5 separate regions of the Homo sapiens genome follow, and all the other regions are linked to region 4. Evidence: promoter capture Hi-C in 16 types of primary human blood cells and fetal thymus (Javierre and others, 2016). All regions are on one chromosome and are shown on one strand. The core of a region is centred on a gene start or on the middle of the fragment in contact, and the rest is flanking DNA. Distances in the headings are between cores, read along the strand shown.

The links. Contacts are between HindIII fragments. The CHiCAGO score rates a contact against its expected background, and 5 or more counts as called.
Region 1: a contact is called between a fragment that was not itself captured here and the fragment with the promoter of STYK1 in region 4, in 1 of 17 cell types (naive CD8 T cells). The highest score is 5.5, in naive CD8 T cells.
Region 2: a contact is called between the fragment with the promoter of KLRK1 here and the fragment with the promoter of STYK1 in region 4, in 2 of 17 cell types (naive CD8 T cells and total CD8 T cells). The highest score is 15.9, in naive CD8 T cells.
Region 3: a fragment that was not itself captured here is called in contact with the fragment with the promoter of STYK1 in region 4 in 2 of 17 cell types (total CD8 T cells and naive CD8 T cells); the score reaches 8.8 in total CD8 T cells.
Region 5: the fragment with the promoter of KLRC4 here is called in contact with the fragment with the promoter of STYK1 in region 4 in 2 of 17 cell types (naive CD8 T cells and total CD8 T cells); the score reaches 10.1 in naive CD8 T cells.

Annotation. Positions count from the first base shown.
Region 1 is chr12:10,343,348-10,346,047 of GRCh38, forward strand. No RefSeq gene overlaps it. Among named protein-coding and RNA genes, the nearest start is that of LINC02617, 6.4 kb to the left of the region's middle. The HindIII fragment of the contact is 4,413 bases long and covers 1-2,700 here.
Region 2 is chr12:10,388,783-10,391,482 of GRCh38, forward strand. It overlaps KLRK1 (killer cell lectin like receptor K1), which reads right to left and starts at 1,259. Exons shown (of 8, transcript NM_007360.4): 1 at 1,161-1,259; 2 at 1-93. The coding sequence starts at 28. KLRC4-KLRK1 (KLRC4-KLRK1 readthrough) reads right to left here. Exons shown (of 13, transcript NM_001199805.1): 7 at 1-93. The coding sequence starts at 28. The region is part of intron 3 of KLRK1-AS1 (KLRK1 antisense RNA 1); the gene reads left to right. The HindIII fragment of the contact is 4,388 bases long and covers 1-2,700 here.
Region 3 is chr12:10,361,531-10,364,230 of GRCh38, forward strand. It overlaps KLRK1-AS1 (KLRK1 antisense RNA 1), which reads left to right and starts at 2,239. Exons shown (of 4, transcript NR_120430.1): 1 at 2,239-2,503. The HindIII fragment of the contact is 2,751 bases long and covers 1-2,638 here.
Region 4 is chr12:10,672,633-10,675,332 of GRCh38, forward strand. STYK1 (serine/threonine/tyrosine kinase 1) reads right to left here and starts at 1,420. Exons shown (of 11, transcript NM_018423.3): 1 at 1,334-1,420. The HindIII fragment of the contact is 4,755 bases long and covers 1-2,700 here.
Region 5 is chr12:10,408,407-10,411,106 of GRCh38, forward strand. KLRC4 (killer cell lectin like receptor C4) reads right to left here and starts at 1,351. Exons shown (of 4, transcript NM_013431.2): 1 at 983-1,351; 2 at 506-604. The coding sequence starts at 1,169. It overlaps KLRC4-KLRK1 (KLRC4-KLRK1 readthrough), which reads right to left and starts at 1,740. Exons shown (of 13, transcript NM_001199805.1): 1 at 1,693-1,740; 2 at 506-604. The HindIII fragment of the contact is 5,444 bases long and covers 1-2,700 here.

The DNA of each region.
Region 1 (2,700 bases), core at 6-2,505, 330 kb before region 4:
ATTTATGAAATGACCGTTAAGATAATAAACTTGTCCATCATGCCCCAAATTTCTTTGTGTCTTTTGCTTTCTTTGGATTATTGTCCCATATAGGTTCAGTTTCAAAACCTTCGTTATGCCGCTCAGGGTCCACTCTGCTCATGAGTCACTCAGTCATGAATGTGGGACTTAGATAGTGGTACAAATCATAGTTCAGTTCCCAAATCCTTTGCCACGCTATCTTGGCTTTGTACTATACTTGTGTAATTAATAGGTGAACCCTGTACTTGTGTCAACTCATATACAAAATTAAGCTATCCTCTTCTCCAACTTTGTCCTCTCTGAAATTTCCCATATTTTCTCAGCTCCAGAAATCCTTTTTCCTGATTTGTCTGAGAAGGAAAATATGTTTCTCTCAGAGTTTTAGCTGCTCATGCACTGATATCTTTTTTTCTTTCCTTCTGGATGTTCAGTGAACAAAAGTTTGGCTTATTGATAGCCTTCTGAGTCTATTCACATTTTATTATTTTTTATTTTGTTATTTTAAAAGTTTTACTGACAAATAATTTTATGCATTTATGGCGTAAAATGTGATATATTGATATATGCATACATTGTAGAAGGATTAAATCAAAGTCATTAACATAGCCATCAACTCACCTACTTATTTTTTGTGATAAAATATTTAAAATTTACTTTTTTAGCAATTTCAAAATATACAATATATTATTATTAGTTATCATCACTATGCTATGGAATAGATTACTAAAACTTATTCCTTCTGTCTAACTAACACTTTGTACCCTCTGACCAATGTCTCCCTTTTCTTCATTACCCCCCTGTACCTTCAGCCTCTGATAACCACCATTATTCTTGCTGCTTCCATGAGCTCAACTTTTTTAGATTCCAAATATAAATGAGATCATGCAGTATTTTTCCTTATGTGCCTGGGTTCTTTTAGTTAGCATAATGTCCTCCACATGTTTCTATGTTGTCACGAATGACAGAAGTTCCTTCTTTTTAAAGGCTGTATAGTATTTCTTTTTTTTGTACATTTTTTATTTTTTATTTTTTATTTTTTTTTCTTAGTTTTTATTACTATTACTATTATTATTATTATTATTATTATTATACTTTAAATTTTAGGGTACATGTGCACAATGTGCAGGTTAGTTACATATGTGTACACGTGACATGCTGGTGCGCTGCACCCACTAACTCATCACCTAGCATTAGGTATATCTCCCAATGCTATCCCTCCCCACTCCCCGCACCACACAACAGTCCCCAGAGTGTGATGTTCCCCTTCCTGTGTCCATGTGTTCTCATTGTTCAATTCCCACCTATGAGTGAGAATATGCAGTGTTTGGTTTTTTGTTCTTGCGATAGTTTACTGAGAATGATGATTTCCAATTTCATCCATGTCCCTACAAAGGACATGAACTCATCATTTTTTATGGCTGCATAGTATTCCATGGTGTATATGTGCCACATTTTCTTAATCCAGTCTATCATTGTTGGACATTTGGGTTGGTTCCAAGTCTTTGCTATTGTGAATAGTGCTGCAATAAACATACGTGTGCATGTGTCTTTATAGCAGCATGATTTATAGTCCTTTGGATATATACCCAGTAATGGGATGGCTGGGTCAAATGGTATTTCCAGTTCTAGATCCCTGAGGCATTGCCACACTGACTTCCACAATGGTTGAACTAGTTTACAGTCCCACCAACAGTGTAAAAGTGTTCCTATTTCTCCACATCCTCTCCAGCACCTGTTGTTTCCTGACTTTTTAATGATTGCCATTCTAACTGGTGTGAGATGGTATCTCATTGTGGTTTTGACTTGCATTTCTCTGATGGCCAGTGATGGTGAGCATTTTTTCATATGTTTTTTGGCTGCATAAATGTCTTCTTTTGAGAAGTGTCTGTTCATGTCCTTTGCCCACTTTTTGATGGGGTTGTTTTTTTCTTGTAAATTTGTTTGAGTTCATTGTAGATTCTGGATATTAGCCCTTTGTCAGATGAGCAGGTTGTGAAAATTTTCTCCCATTTTGTAGGTTGCCTGTTCACTCTGATGGTAGTTTCTTTTGCTGTGCAGAAGCTCTTGAGTTTAATTAGATCCCATTTGTCAATTTTGGCTTTTGTTGCCATTGCTTTTGGTGTTTTAGACATGAAGTCCTTGCCCATGCCTATGTCCTGAATGGTAATGCCTAGGTTTTCTACTAGGGTTTTTATGGCTTTAGGTCTAACGTTTAAGTCTTTAATCCGTCTTGAATTGATTTCTGTATAAGGTGTAAGGAAGGGATCCAGTTTCAGCTTTCTACATATGGCTAGCCACTTTTCCCAGCACCATTTATTAAATAGGGAATCCTTTCCCCATTGCTTGTTTTTCTCAGGTTTGTCAAAGATCAGATAGTTGTAGATATGTGGTGTTATTTCTGAGGGCTCTGTTCTGTTCCATTGATCTATATCTCTGTTTTGGTACCAGTACCATGCTGTTTTGGTTACTGTAGCCTTGTAGTATAGTTTGAAGTCAGGTAGCGTGATGCCTCCAGCTTTGTTCTTTTGGCTTAGGATTGACTTGGCGATGCGGGCTCTTTTTTGGTTCCATATGAACTTTAAAGTAGTTTTTTCCAATTCTGTGAAGAAAGTCATTGGTAGCTTGATGGGGATGGCATTGAATCTGTAAATTACCTTGGGCAGTATGGCCATTTTCACG
Region 2 (2,700 bases), core at 9-2,508, 280 kb before region 4:
GAGACCTCCGACCACGAATCCACCCCATCAAATACTTATAAGTGCACGTCTACCGCAGAGAGGAATCTAAAGTCTTCAATGCACAAAGGATTCCTGAATAAAATAAAACTGGGCATTTGTTTTTTGTTCTCTTTCCCGTGGTGAGATAAAATATTTTGAATAGAAAAGTAAAATGCAGAAACTTTTCCCCTGTGCATGCCTTTAAGAAAAGAATAGAAATGACAATTCACATAAAGCCAGGCAAAATTAATTTTATACATTTCTCTTGGTTGTAAAATAATCGCCAATTACTTCAAAATGTCATAACAATATAATGAACCTATTAATTCACCTACATTGAGATATTTAATACCAATATTTTACTTTACTGATATTAGATAACAACACACCCAGTTTTCTGTTTATAGTCGTTTATTGCTTCTTGGCCTTTTAGCTAAGATCAAGTGTTTCCAGTTGTTTATTTTATCTGGCAATAATTTAGTTTTCTTTCTGCAAGCTAAACTCAGGTAAGTTATATGCACTTTTGTTGAATGTCCTTTTCTAGTGCATTTTAATCCAACGTGCCCATATCATCATCATCAACAAATTATCATCACCATCATCATTAACAAAACTAATCTCACATGTTTATATAGTAACATCTTAGCAATGCACAGCAGAGCTTCCAGAAAAAACCATTTAATAAATAAGCATAGTGCTTAGATTTCAAAAATAAAAGCTATTTCATATTTGATTATGATAGTTGGAAAGCACAGATATAACTTGTTTCACCTTGCATGTAAAGATGTGTATCAAAGGTAAGTGCCCCCTACAGCATCAGAAAACTCAAAAATTTGACAATTTAAATTGAATCTCAATTCTTCTCATCCTAAATGTAAAGATTCATTTTTCTAGTTTTGCTTAGAGACAAGGCTTCTTCTTATAGTAATATTACAACTTCTGATTCTTCAATAAGTATATCCTAATTACCTATCATCAGATACAGTGATAGAATATACATCAGAAATGATAAGCATTCCGTATCCTCAGGAGTTCTATTCAAGCATCTAAGAAACAATTAGAATTACCTTATAGTGTAAATATTTTTATTTTTTTGAGGTTGAAATATAATTTCTCATATCTTGAATAATAAACACACACACATACACACATACACACACCTGCTCAGAGAGGGAAGATCTTGATTCTTGTGGATAAAAGCCTTCTATAAAACTAGAAAATTTAGATATGTCCTCAGTTCCTGATCTAGAATTGAAAGTGGAGATACTTAGTGAATTTCTATCTTTGAGAAAGATGTGACAAATATTATAATCTCATCTTCCTGTGGAAAAACATAAACCACAGTACTTCCGCCTTATCACTACAAAAATATTGTTAATTTGGTAAAAGAGTTAAGACCACCCATTGTTGGATAAATGTTAGGTTGGTGCAAAAGTAATTGTAGTTTTGCCATTATTTTAAATAACATTTTAGGATTTGAAAATGATGAATTTAAATGATGCCATTTAATCCTAAATATTTTAGAGATTCAATTCAATTCCAGTTAATACCTCAGGTTTTGTTGTAGAACTTACAAAGCAGAATTCTACATGTACATTAAATTACAAAAGTCAAGACTAGGAAAGTCACAATTGAAGATGAAGAAAATGTGGGAGCCTTGTTTTACTAGATAGTAAGACCTATGTTAAAACCGTATTAATAAAGGCAAAGTGGCATGTGGGGCATAGATAGACAAATTGAGAAGGGTAAAAATACAGACAAGAAAAAGTCATGTGCATAGATTAAAAAATATAAGGTAACATTGCAGATAAAGTGGGAAATTAGCTCCTATTCAATAATTTGTCCTGGGTTACTATCACACTGGCCTTTAAGTTACAAAAAATTAGTCCTGGGAATTTTTAAATTTTAATATAAAAAACATGAAATTGCATCTCTGTCATATCTACATCATATGCAGGAGAATTAGAAACTTAAATATATACCCCAGTATACATAAGAATAATATATGAATTGATACCAATGAACAAGATAAGCTAAATATATATTTTATGTTTATTAATTTAAAATACTAACATAAGACATCATATAAAGTAATATAAGATGAACACATTATAACATTTTAACAAAAACCAAAGCTATTAATCTTAAAACTCTGAAATATAAGGAAGGAAAACAGCTTTCATGTGGTGATGTGTTAAAGTTGGACAATAAATTTATTCAACATTTTTTTTCTTTAGCGAATGCTATTTGCTATGCACTTTTCTAGATCTTGAGAATGTCAAAGTAAACAATCCAAAAGAAAGTTTTTGCCCACATGGAAATTAATTACTTTTTTTTTTTTTTTTTTTAAGAGATGGAGTTTCACTCTTGTTGTCCAGGCTGGAGTGCAACGGGGCGATCTCGGCTCACTGCAACCTCCGCCACCTGGGTTCAAGCAATTCTCCTGTCTCAGCCTCCAGAATAACTGGGATTACAGGCATGTGCCACCACACCTGGCTAATTTTTGTATTTCTAGTAGAGACGAGGTTTCACCATGTTAGTCAGGCTGGTCTCGAACTCCTGACCTCAGGTGATCCTCCTGCCTCAGCCTCCCAATGTGCTGAGATTACAGACGTGAGCCACCACACCCAGCTGGAAATTACTTTTTAGTTTAGGTGATATAAAATGAATAAGTATAAAACAAATTCAAAATTAAACAAG
Region 3 (2,700 bases), core at 13-2,512, 310 kb before region 4:
CTAAAAGAATTTCTTAGTAACTCCTATAATAGTATGTCAAAGTAAAAATAAAAATGCAGACACAAATCTCTAAATGTAGTGTTTTATTTGGGAAGAAAGAATTGCAGTTCAGGGCATACACGTGGTCTTCGGTATCTCCAAAGAGCAAAGAGAAGGTTAGAGGTTTTACATATTGCTTTTTGAGAAAGTTCATTGATATTTGTAAGGATTTGGTGAGCTGGCAAGCTCCGATTTTTGCGTGACAACAGTGTGAGCAAACATTAGTTCTAGAGTTGCAGTAAGCTACTTCAGAAGCTACAGATAAAACTGGTTTCTGGTTACAACAGGCAGTTTCAGCAGCCAGGCTTGCAGATAATTACATTCTTGGAGCAATGCTTTGTACCCAGAATGTTTTCCCACTGGATTCTCCACTCTGTTTTATTTAGTTATGAAAAGAATTACTCAATTTTTATAATCAACTTTCACACCTAAATTACCTCCCAAAGGCACCTCCTAATACTATACCATTGGGAGTTAGGATTTCAAATATGAATTTCAGGGAAACAGAAACATTCTGTCCATAACATTCTGCCCATGGCAAAGTTTATGTTCTTTTTGCCTGCATTTATTCTGTAAAAAGTAAAGTAGAGGTTGCTCTTCAAAGACTTTCCTCCCTAACTAATTAGGAATAAATAGTAACTTCTCTTAGAAGCAAAATTTATTCAAAGACCTGTGCTCCTAAATATTTGCCCTGGCATGCTTATACTGGTCCAAGCAAGCATTAGGTCATAGCCTGTTCCTCTTCCTTATTTAAAAGTGTTTTTACCTTTCTCAGCATTCCACAAGTTACTTCCTCCTTCCTTTGTTCTCCTCTACCTTTGCCTCTTTTAAAAAGTTCTAAATTGCTAGCCAGTCGGGACAAATACAGAATGTGAGGTCCTGTTCCAGTCAATGGAAACTGGATACAGCAGTAGGGTGGATGCGGCAGGTTATAAATGATGCTGTCTCCTTTGTTTGGTGTACACTCGTGGCAAAACTGCTGATGAGTATACCCTTTCTGCAGGAAGTAAAAAAAAAAAATGGCCACACTAAATAAATCTATGTTCAAGTGCTATTTTTTTATGGCACTGGGGAACAAGCATTTCAAACAATTTGGTGGCAGTCTGTATGGGGATACATTCTCCTCCAGGGGTGGTCTCCAGTCCTCTCTCATGAGGGAGTGCACTCCCCTACCTCATTGAAGGGGCCCTCAGGAATGACAAATTGAGACAAATAAACCCAGACTCTCAGCAACACAGAGAGAAAAAAAAAAAAAAGAAACTGGCCAGCAACCTAGCTTAAAGGATCCTCACATACTGTGGCGACAACTTTGTGCACAGGCCAAGAAAGAAGAAGCTGTGGGAGCCAATAAAGTATTTCCTTGGTGATCGGGACTAAAAAAAAAAAAAAAAAAAAAGCCACAGGACGGTAAAGCATTCCTTAGTTAGGACGTACCAAGGAGAGAGAAACTGCAGGGTCAGTAGATTATTCCTTAGTCGGGATGTCTTGGAGGTTAAAAATAGGTGAGAAATCCCCATAGAAGGGGTGTTGAACCTCAGAAAGAGGTGAGAAATCCCCATGAGGCGGGTTGAACCTCAGAAAGAGGTGAGGAATCCCCATGGGAGGGGGGCGTTGAACCTCACACAAACTCCCAGTAGTAAGAAAAATATTCAGAACCCCCCTTTCCTTTCTTCTTGGGGGAAGAAAGAATAGCCCCACTGCCACCAGTCCCTTCCCTAGGGAAAGGGGAAGGAGGGGGAAAACAGCAGCATAGGTGGCTGGCATGGAACAGGAATTAAAATAAATTACAGAATGTGTAAGCAAAAACTCAGTTGTATATAAGAAAACCCAATTCCCCCCTGAGGAAGAGAAAGAGCCGGAGTCCTTTAAAAATTAACTGCCTGTTTTCTGTGGCTAGTGAGCCTTATCTCTCCCTTTCCCAGGCATTATGAAGACCCTATTTCTCTAGCTGTGCAGCTGCAAGGTCACTAGACAGATAAACTCAAGTCATAAAACATGTTTTTCCTTGAAAAGAAATGATGTCATGTATGTCTCAATTGAATAACTGTCTTTGTTTCTTGCTTCTGTTATACGCTTCCCCCTGCACAAATCTTCCCCCACCCACGAAATGCTTAAAAGGTAACTTGACTCTTTGTTTGGGGCTCAGTCCTTTGGATGTTAATCCAAGTGGACCAGTGCACCTAAATAATAAATATCCTCCTCAATCCCTTGGTCTCTCTGATTCCTTATATATCCCGATACATTTCTGGGGGCTCATCAGGATTGGAGATGACAGATTTACTGTCCCCTTTGCCTGCGATACTAGGTCCCCGGGGCCAGGAGAGACCCGGCATCCAAGGTGTGCCACAGCTGAGCTTCACCCGGATATATAGACCAGCTCTCCCCACGTCCCAGCACCCTGCCTGGCAGCGCAATGGAACCGAGGATGGGGCTGCAGGACGATACCAGCACTTCAGGAACTGTGGTAAGGAGTATAGGCCCAAGGCAGGAAAGCCCGTCCCATAGGGACAAAGGGGAGCTTGATCACCTCCCAGGGACTGACCACTAATCCAACCCAGAGTGGCTGGGGGCAGCAGGAGTGGCCTGCCAATTTGGATGAAGCTTATGTCCCCACTAACAAAGTGAAAGTGGTTCACTGGATCTGGAGACAGGAACTGGGAG
Region 4 (2,700 bases), core at 170-2,669:
CGTAAGGTGGAACAGTTTCATTCTGAAACCATCTCCCGCCAACCTCATCGGCATCTGTGAAAAAAATTGTCTTCCACAAAATCAGTCCCTGGTGCCTGGTGCCAAAAGCCATGCAGTTTGTGGTACCTTGTTACAGCAGCCCTAGCAAACTCACACAGTAATGGAGGCACTGAACGAAAAAGTATATGATTTTCATTGAAGCAAATACTTCATGATGTCTCATTGAAAGACCTAGCTGCCCCCTAGCTAGCTGTCAGTGGAGATTCCGGTGCATTGAGGGGGAAAAACCAGGTAGACAGCACAGAGTTCTGTTTCCAGGTGTATTTCAGTTGAGCTGTGCTGCACATTACAGTAACTCGACTCCTTTATTGCCACTACTTCCCACCGAGTGGGAAGGAAGTGTGGTCTCATAGGTATAAGAAACTCCAATGTGGAGAGGACCCATTACAGAAGGAAGCAACAATCGCATAAATGAAAGAAAGAAAGGGGGGATGAAGGGTTGATAGAGAAAAATGAAAGAGGAAAAAAGACATTGAAAAGAAAACAGAGGCTAAAATGGTGAAACCCCGTCTCTACTAAAAATACAAAAAAATAAATAGCCGGCCGTGGTGGTGGGAGCCTGTAATCCCAGCTACTTGGGAGGCTGAGGCAGGAGAATCGCTTGAACCTGGGAGGCGGAGGTTGCAGTGAACCGAGATCGCGCCATTGCACTCCAGCCTGAGTGACAGAGCAAGACTCCCTCCCCCACTCCCCACCCCAAATAAAAAGAAGGAAAGAAAACAGAGATTCAGTCAACAAGGGATAGCACATCAGGCTGTACACTTTTAAAGCATGGTTATTGATATCTCATTTAAATATCGCAACAACCCTGGAAAGTAATTACCGTATTTATGCTTTGCAGATGAGGAAGCCGAAGCTGAAAGCAACGATTCCATGGTCTGAAAGGCTATGCAGTCCTCTGACAAGTAATTCCTGTAACCTCATTCTTTCCCTTCCCCCTCTCCTGATGGCCCCCTCTCCAGGAATAAACAGAGGTCCCCCATTCCTGGGTTTTCTCATGTTTCTCTCTGCACCAAATCTGCTGAGTCAGGTTTACTCCCTTATCATATAGAAACACAGAAGCCAAACCCCACAAGATGCTGGTTCCGAAGAAACACAGGTTAATTCACTTGGTGATTTCTGTTTGTTCACATAAACACCCGTTCCGCTCCCAGCCTCTTCCCTTTTTCTCCCTCCCCAACTGCAAAGTCCTCCCCCAGCTGCCTCGCTGCCATTCCCTTCCCACCTTCTTTACCCTCCCCGCCGCGCCCGCCCCCCATACCCCGTTCACTACCGTGTCCCTCCTCTGGTCACTCCGGTTTCCGATGGCACCGGCCCAGTCGGAGGGGAAATAATGACAGGGTTGGGTAGGGCAAGGTGTGCCAGCCTCAAGGAAATGCTTTTCAGTCCCTCCTTCCCACTGCGGGGCGTGGCTGCCGGCAAAGGATGGAGTTCGGGCGGGCTCCCGCGAAGGGAAGTCTGCGGGCTCCGAGGTTTCCGGGACTCGCCACACTCGAGCCACAGGAAACCTCTGCTGCAACTGTAAAGGCTGGACTTGTTGCTGATCTATACTCATTTCCTACTCTAGTGATTGCTAGATGTCAGGTATCACGGTGACTCCAGTCCAGGTGAAAACGGAGTCACGATACAGGGCAACAGCGCCACCTCACGGCCGGCCCCGTAGCAGCGGCCTCCATTGGCGCCTAAAAATGGTCAGGATTCACATTCAGGTGGATTATTCCGCGCCAGGAACATTCTCCACCTGAAGGCTTTGCCGGGGTGTTACAAGATAATACTGAAGGGACGGGAGTGGTGGCTTACGCCTGTAATCCCAGAACTTTGAGAGGCCAAGGCGGGTGGATCACCTGAGGTCAGCAGTTCGAGACCAGCCTGGCCAACGTGGCGAAACCCCGTCTCTACTAAAAATACAAAAATTAGGCGTGATGGCGGGCGCCTATAATCCCAGCTACTCAGGAGGCTGAAGCAGGAGAATCTCTTGAACCCAGGAGGCAGAGATCGCATAGAGCCGAGATTGTGCCACTGCATTGCAGCTTGGGCGACAGAGCAAGACTCCGTCTCAGAAAAAAAAAAAAAAAAAAGAAAAAAAAAAGTACTGACCACTGCGGAGACGTGGGGGAACCTATAAGGAATTAATGAGAATTAAAACCCCAAGATTACGTAATAGATCATTCATTTAGAGCCCGCGCGCGCGCGCGCGCGCACACACACACACACACACACACACACACATATATCCCATTATGTCCTGGGTTCTCCTCTGGGGAAACAGTGAACAAGGTAGTTATGTTACCCGTCCACATGGAAACTAAAATAATAGAAAATACTTAAGACAATAGATAGCTGAAGGAATTCTGTTAGATATTAACACCTAATACAAATTCAATTAAAGAAATAAGAGTCATAGGTAACTTGAATATGTGACCAATTTATTCAGCATTGAACGCATACCAAACACAAACTGACAGTCATTAGAGCAAAAAGAACTTGAGTCAATGTAATGTGGCATATTTAGAGATTGAGGTATGTCAGTTCTCTAGAGCTTTCTCTATTGGCATTTTCACTTCCTTCAGGGCTTTTTAAAAACAGGATGAATTGTACTTAATGCCACTGAACTGTTCATTTTTAAATGGCTAATGGTTG
Region 5 (2,700 bases), core at 101-2,600, 260 kb before region 4:
CAAAATTAATATCTAGACAAATTATAATAAATTCAGTTGCTTACTTTGAAATACAAAATTTAAAATTATTTTAAATTGGAACAATCTGAAATAAAAATGACTTTTCTATAAAAATAATGAGATCTTTAAAACAAATATTTTTAAAGCCATTAGCATAAAACTTCACCATCTCTTATAGTATTTGATCTAACCACTTTCAAAAATTAATTTGTTTTTCTAAATATTTTTTCTCTTAAAACATGTCTTTGAGTCATGAAATCAGAATACATCTCTCTGTGTGTGTATCATATATACATATATATTTAGTACACACAAAAAAATAAATGTTTTCTACAATTATTCTGTTATTTATAAATTTGAAAAGTTCAGAAGCAGCATATTATCTTGGGGTTCAGAGATATACATTAAACAGAGAATTCTAATCCTCATTATTATGAAATGTTTCAAGGCGCTTCCAATCATTATAGTGAAAAGTTCCCTTATAATCTTTCAAGAATATGCTTACAAGGAATAAGAACTATTGTTTTTAACACAGTGGCCATCAGGACAATGCAAATGATTCCTAGGACCTCAGCAGTGAGCTTCTCTGGAGGTGGCAGTAAACCTGCAGGGAGAGAAAGAGGCACTGAGAGAGGGGAGATAGAGAGTTGATGAGAAGGTTTACGTACAAGAGAACTCACGTGCACAGGAAAACATAATGATAAACTCTGTCCTCTAAATCTACATCTACTCTAGTAATCTTTCTCTCAGAATATACCATTTCATTATCAGTAAATATAATGCTCCATGAGTTGTTAATCACAAATTACAATTGAACAATGCCTGAATAAAATCAGGCTTCAGATTTCATATTAGAATATTAGATCCTGACTTTGACCTCTGATTCTCACAAGTGCAAAATATTCCCTAATCTTTCCCCACCTTTCTGCATTCAACTGCACATCCTAGAACAATAATATTGAAGATCTATTTAATGTTTTACCTTTGCAGTGATATGTCTTGTCATTCCCTTGATGATCCGAAGAAGCATTTTGAAGGTTTAATTCTACTTGGAATATTTCCTGTTTGGTTCCTGAAATGGAGATTTTATTGCCCTTAAGTTTCCTTTGCTGCCTCTTTGGGTCCTGGGCCAGACTCACTTCTGAGTAGGTTCCTCTTTGTTTATTCATCTCTGCAGCTGTGTGATGTCAGGGACTGTGCTCTATGATAACTGCACTTAAGAAGCTATAAGTGGTGTATATTTTGACAGGATCCCTGGTATAGGCAAACTGCATGTGTTGGAGGCTGAGTAGTAATGTTCATTTTGCTGTTGACCAATATAAAAGTCTGGTACTAATTTCCTAAAGTTTTAAACTGAAATCTCTTTAAACAATAGGTCACTTTTTAAAAGGCCTTCTATATTTGACATAATATTATTAATGGGAACAATAAAAAACAATACATTTGTGAAAACTAAGAAGTAACTGAATATAAATATCTTTATTAATTTAAAATCAGATTCTACAGAAATATTTTATCACCAATAGAATACCTGTGTAAAAAACTAAAATTGAAATTTGAAAATAAAATGCACTAATTGTATGACAATTTTAAAATTCATTAATGTAAGGATTGAGCGCTAAAGATGGAGGAATAATTTGTTGGCATATAGAACAACTTTTAATACTAAAATACATTAAGTTAGTGACTTACATTCGTTTACTAAAAGGGCATGAGGTCTTGGCAAATGTTTTTTATTCTGAATGATTGAGGAAAACAGAAAAATTGTTAAAATTTTAAAGAAATATTTTATACCTTGTAAAACATTACATTAACTTATGCATAAACTAAATACTACTGAAAAAGATTTAACTCTTTATTTTACAGAATTGATTGGTAATTGATTTAATGACTAAAATAGGAAAACTGAAAATGATAAATATAAGTTTGGACCATCTATGAAAGAACACTTTAAGTTCAAACTTTCAGAAAGACCCTGTGGTTGTTTTAAAAGGCAGCGAGGGTCACTTTGGTTGTGTAAGTAATTGTAATAAATCAGAAAATATAATTTAATAATCTAGTCAATGAGCTCTGTAGCCAGTGAGACCTAAAATTAATTACAGCTTTGAAACTCATAATGCATGACCTTTACAAAGTTACTTGGTGTCTACAACACCAGTTTACTAATCTAGATTGGGGAAAATAATTTATGAAGTATAATGTATATAAAACCCTTAACATACAACCTGGCACACATTAGTCCTCAATACATATTAGATATTTTAATTATTTTTAACACAATTGCCATTTTATTATTTCTAATTCATACTGAGTGTGTAAAATAACTAATGAGGTAGGAGTCTCATGTCAGTGTAGTACATCTTTTTTGCAATGTTTGTTTGGCTCAATTTTTTTTAGGTCGTCCTATTATTTATAATTAAGTTTAGATTTGCATTTTATGGAAACTACTTCATTATTACATTCTTAAAAAAATAAAATCTGCTTCAATTAAATATAAGTATGTGTATGAGAAATTATGTTTGACATTCACAATTTGATGTATCCATTAAAAATGCATTTTTAAAGTCTGGGCTAAATATAAAGTATTATTACATCTATAATGATTATAAAATTTCAAATTAATTCTTCATTGTCGTGATATTTATCGGTTTCACTCTAAATTATATTGATTAACAAACCTATTATGATGTATGCATGTGC